2 separate regions of the Homo sapiens genome follow, and region 1 is linked to region 2. Evidence: promoter capture Hi-C in 16 types of primary human blood cells and fetal thymus (Javierre and others, 2016). All regions are on one chromosome and are shown on one strand. The core of a region is centred on a gene start or on the middle of the fragment in contact, and the rest is flanking DNA. Distances in the headings are between cores, read along the strand shown. Region 1 overlaps LOC100505782 (a long non-coding RNA gene). Region 2 holds the start of KRTAP4-4 (keratin associated protein 4-4).

Evidence for each region. The method cuts DNA at HindIII sites, captures the fragments that hold promoters and counts their contacts. A CHiCAGO score of 5 or more calls a contact.
Region 1: a contact is called between a fragment that was not itself captured here and the fragment with the promoter of KRTAP4-4 in region 2, in 2 of 17 cell types (total CD8 T cells and naive CD8 T cells). The highest score is 6.0, in total CD8 T cells.

What each region holds. Positions count from the first base shown.
Region 1 is chr17:41,403,057-41,405,756 of GRCh38, forward strand. All of the region lies in intron 1 of LOC100505782 (a long non-coding RNA gene), which reads left to right. Among named protein-coding and RNA genes, the nearest start is that of KRT31, 6.8 kb to the left of the region's middle. RefSeq lists an enhancer at 634-1,833. The HindIII fragment of the contact is 2,100 bases long and covers 346-2,445 here.
Region 2 is chr17:41,159,358-41,162,253 of GRCh38, forward strand. KRTAP4-4 (keratin associated protein 4-4) reads right to left here and starts at 1,391. Exons shown (of 1, transcript NM_032524.2): 1 at 292-1,391. The coding sequence starts at 1,334. The coding sequence ends at 834. The HindIII fragment of the contact is 13,067 bases long and covers 1-2,896 here.

The DNA of each region.
Region 1 (2,700 bases), core at 146-2,645, 240 kb after region 2:
GCAGGGAAAAAGAAATGAGAAGACTTGGGGTTGAGTGCGTGGAGCTGCCCCTCACCTGCTGTGAGGTGCAGAGGGGGCATTTCACCTCCCTACACCTGTACTTCTCCCACTGCACGATGGGGATTGTGATGTCTGTTCCCCTCTCTCAAGGTTGTTTGGGGCCTCCATTTGGATACAACACAAAGTACTTTAACAAGTGTTTTGTAAATGGTGAAACAATGAACATCTATAGGGATTCTGTTTCCCTCCTCCTCTTTCTCAATAGACAAGGTGGTTTTAAAATGGCAGGAAGTGAGTTGAGCTTCTTTGTCAACTCCTAGTTTATTAAAATTGCCAGAGTCCTCAAGCTTCAAGATCCTGTGAGATACTAAAGGACTTTTATTCCTTGTACCACCCTTTGTGGCATAAATTCTCAGAAACGTTTCTTCTAACATAAACATACTCATTTCCTTCAAGGAAAGGAATCAAAACAATGGGGTCATTATGATTCTATCATCCTTTTGACAAAATCTGAGACTTGGCCTCTGTAAAGCACAGTAGTTAAGAGCACAGTTGCTGGAGGCAGGCTGCTTGGATCTGAATCCTGGCTTCACCACCTAATAGCTGTGTGACCTTGGGCATGTTACTTAGCCTCTCTGAGTCTTGGCTACTTGTCTGCAAAATGAGAAAACCATAGCATTGGCTTTCTAGGATTGTTGTAATGATTAAATGAGTTTACCCATATGACTGTAGCTATAATTTAGACCAGCGCCTGGCTCATAGTAAGAGCTTGATGGATATATGGTTCTATGACAATGATGATGATGGTGAAGCTATATGATTTGATGATGATGATGATGATGATTCTGGTGATGGTGATGGTAATGATGACCTCTGTGGTTTCCAGGGAAACTCTTCACACACGACAAACACACAGATGTGCGTGCACACACACACATGTACTGTCTCATCAAAGCTAATCTTTTAATTAGAAATGAGAGAGCACTGGATGTGAACTTAAGAAACACAGGTCAATCACCCTGGGGCCCCACTGACTCACTTTATGTCACCAGCAGAATCCCTTAACCACTGAATGACTCACCTTCTCTCTCTCTCCCTTAAATGGGAAGGACAATGCTTGCCTGTGCCGTCATGGTGCAAGAATAAGTGGGTTTATTTTGTTAGACAGCTTTGAACTTGTTGGATGAAAGGAGCTATTTAAGTACAAAGGAGATGAGGGCAGCTGGGTCAGGTACTAAATTAAGACTAATCGAGATGGCTCTTCATTATTGAGAGCTTCTCTTGGGTAGGTGCCCAAGGGGTGTGTCACGTGTGCCAAAACAGTTTTACCACTTGAGAAAAAGAACAGAGGAGGGGAGGGCGTGGCAGCCTCTGACCCTTCTTGGGCTTCCTATGCTGGAAATCCCAGTGTCTCTCAAGCAGATCAGTCCTATGTACATGAGCAGTGACCAACAAGTAGGACGCTGGGCTTGAGAGCAGTTGGAGGCAGAGCAACAAGATTCTCACTTAAGCTCCCTCCAGCCTTGGGGCTCGGGACTGTGGTCACTCCAGCACCACACCGCTGTATCAGGAAGACCTGGATTAAACCAGAACCAGCTGTACTTGTAAATTTTTCAGCAAACTACAGTGATTCAGAGAATTCACAGAGGGAAAGGGAAGACCAAAACCAGCTCCTAAAGTAGATTTGGTGGTTCCACTTCAATGCCTGTGGTTTCACTGATCAATAAGACATAGAAAGCAGGGACGCACAGAGTTAGGGGGGCTACAGCCATCTCAACCAGCCCCATCAGTTCCCTAAGTGTTCCCCTCAACATCCCCATCAGTGATTCTGAAGCCTCTGCTTGTCTCCAAGGATAGGGAACTCACTGCTTCTCTTCTCTGGCCAGCTGTGATGCTGAATTCTGGAGATGTGCTGATTCTCAGCCACGGCTATCAAAATATGGAGCTTTTGATTCATGTTCTACCATCTGCAAATTCCAAGACAGACAGTTGCCATAAGGACTCACCAATGGGGGTTACTGGGGAGGTTGGATGGGTCAGCTTGTTTGGGCCTTTCTAGACTGATAGAAATAACTATCATGTAACATTTTCAGAGTTTTGCAATGTAAAAGAGAAAGGCTCTATCCTGATCTGATGGTATGAGGGATTCCTCACTGGAGGACATATCAGGACGGCAAGGCCAGCCCTTTCTGTAGAGGGTCTAGCTAGTCAAGGGCTCATTCCTCAAATAAACTTCCTAACCCAGTGTTTCTCAAACTTGAACCAACATCAGAATCACCTGCAAGTCATGCTAAAGCAGAATGCTGGTTCAGTAAGTCAGGGGTGGTGCTCAAGAATGTGCATGTCTAGCAAGTTCTCAGGTAATGCCAGTGCTACCTGCTGGCGGACCACGCTTTAAGAACCACTGTCCTAAACCTTCTCATGTTTAATTTGTTTCCCCCTCAAAGCTTCCAAAGAACGGGCTTTGGATCTGGTTCAAAGAGACTAGGTTTCAAGTCTTGACTCAGTAACCAACTGAGAATAATAACAGCTGCTTCTTCTTTGCAGGGCTGATGTGGTGCCCTGTGACACAATGTCGGCGAAGCCCCAGCCAGTGCCTTGTTCATAATGGGCATGTCATCCTAAAAGCTCAATTTAAGTTACCTGTTCTGGGGCTTCTGATTCATGTTCTACTGTCTACAAATTCCAAGCCAGACAGCT
Region 2 (2,896 bases), core at 141-2,640:
TGGAGGAGAAATAACTAAAGCATGTGTTCACCAACTCTCACTCATTTGTTGAATACTATTCCAAGAGGCTTTAACTCTACAGTCCAGAGCTTGCTCCTTGGCTAGAGAAACTCTTCAAGAAGAGAGTTCCAGGTGCTTGCTCTAAGAAACCACCATTGTATATTAGAATAAAGTGTGCTGAGGAAATAGAGGTGGTGCCCCTGAAATTACATTCTGCAGAGAAGAACAACAGAAAAATTGACTGGTAATTGACCACACTCAAAAAAGAAAAATAATGAGACACAGTATCTGTATATTTCTATGCCTGAAAATTTATTTAAGATTTATTTAGATAAATATTTGTTTAAAATGGAATAGCTCCATATGAGAAATTATGGCAGAGAGCAAATATTTCAATTAAGATAGTTGACAGATTTCAGAGCAAATTACAACTTATGTTCATTTGGTAGAGAGGTAAAATGTGGGGGGAGCATATATTTGGAGGCCAGATTCAATCTAAGAATTGGTTGGAACTGAAGTTTTCCAACTAGCTTCCCATAACTCAGCTCATAGATGAGCTACATCAAGAATGCTGGTTGATGAGAATCTGGTGAGTCCAGATGACAGCCTCAGCAGCAAGAAGCACTAGAGCAGGTTGGGCGGCAGCACATGGTCTGGCAGCAGTTGGGGCGGCAGCAACTGGAGATGCAGCAGGAGAGCCTGCAGCAGCTGAAGCCACAGCAGGAGGAGCTACTGCTGCTAGAGATACTGCAGGAAGGCTGGCAGCAGCTGGAAATGCAATAGCTGGGGTGGCAGCAGGTGGTCCTGTAGCAGGTGGTTTGCCAGCAGATGGGCTAGCAGCATAGAGACTGGCCACAATGGGGCCTGTAGCACCTGGACACACAGCAGCTGGGGCGGCAGCAGGTGGTTCTGCAGCAGGTGGTCTGGCAGCACTGGGGTCTGCAGCAGCTGGACACACAGTAGCTGGGGCAGCAGCAGGTGGGCTGGCAGCACACAGACTGGCAGCACTGGGGCCTGCAGCAGCTGGGGCGGCAGCAGGTGGTCCTACAGCAGGTAGTCTGGCAGCATTGGGGTCTGCAGCAGGTGGGCTGGCAGCACACAGACTGGCAGCACTGGGGTCTGCAGCAGCTGGACACACAGCAGCTGGGGTGGCAGCAGGTGGTCCTGCAGCAGGTGGTCTGGCAGCACTGGGGTCTGCAGCAGCTGGACACACAGCAGCTGGGGCGGCAGCAGGTGGTCCTGCAGCAGGTGGTCTGGCAGTAGCTGGGACGGCAGCAGTTCTCTAGGCCACAGCCCTGGTCAGAGCACACAGAGCCACAACAGGAGTTGACCATGGTGTCAGAGGGTGGAGGTTCTGGGTGGGTTTCCAGGAAGGAGGGTTTGGAAGGCTTGGAAGTCTCCTTGCCCCAGATCCTCTTTTATACCCTGCTCAGGGCTGATGTCATCGGATGCAGCACTCTTTCCTTGTCATTGTTTGTTCTGATGAGCAGGCAATTATCAAATTAGGCAAGTTTGTTTTTCTGCTTAAATTTGTCAACATGGAGAAAAGCATTATTTCCTTCCCCTGGTGTGTTAGGATTCTTCAGGTCAGCTCTTCTTGAACAACCTCTTGTGTGCCTCTTGCTGCAGCTTCCTCCTTGAGCTGCCATGTGACATCTGCCTGCAGGTACCATGTGCTGCAGCCTCATTTTCCTTAATACATTATGTCTGACCTTGGGTGATTTTAATTCTTCTAGGCCCGTAATTTTCTTTTGGTGACTCAGGAGGAGAAAGCTGTGCTTTAATCTCATGGCATGTTTGTTATAGATCAAGTGAGCAATGAAGGTTTGAATGTGAAACAGGTGACCAGTGGCATGAAAACAAATACTATTAGGATATATTCCTTGCCACCTTCCATACAATGAATCATGACCCATTTTCTAGATGTTCTACTGGGGAAAGCAGAATTGTTTTAAGGTGGACATCTAAGTCATGAATTATCGATGCTTCTTTTTCTTGAGAAACAACACTCCAAAACTCAGTTTCAGGGCCTTTAGGGGAAATTGGCTACAGAGATCAGCTATACTAAAAGGTTCAGGTCCCTCCGCTCTCTGCTCTGAGGGGCTGATTTTCCTTCTGACTTTTCCTTCCTGTCTCTCTGGCTTTAACAATCACATTGAGTCATCTCCTCTATTTCTAAGGTTTACTTGCCAACCTAAGGTAAAGGACCCAGTGTCCTTGCTATATATATATAATATATATATATATATATAATATATATTATATATATACATATATATACTATATATAGTATACACACACACGTATATACACACTATATATAAATATACACACTATATATAAATATGCACACTATATATAAATATACACACATACACACACATATATGTGTGTGTATGTATGTGTGTGTATGTGTGCGTGTGTGTGTGTATATATATATATATATATATATATACACACACACACGCACACATACACACACATTATGTCTGACCTTGGGTGATTTTAATTCTTCTAGGCCCATAATTTTCTTTTGATGTATATGTATATATATATATACACTCACACACACACAGGTTTGGGGGAATATATATATTCTGCCAAAGGACCTTAGGAATATATATATATATTATACATATATAGATGGGTAGATAGAGAACCTTATATATAGGTAATATAGGAATATATATATTTACATATTTATGAATATATAATATATATTCTTCATATATGTTTGTATTTAATAGTATGTATAAATATATATATAATATATACAATAACATATTTAGAAATATATATATTTATATATATATGTATTTACCTTTATCTCCTAAGGCCCTTTACCTTAGGAATATTATGCACACACACACACACACACACTCAAACACACACACAC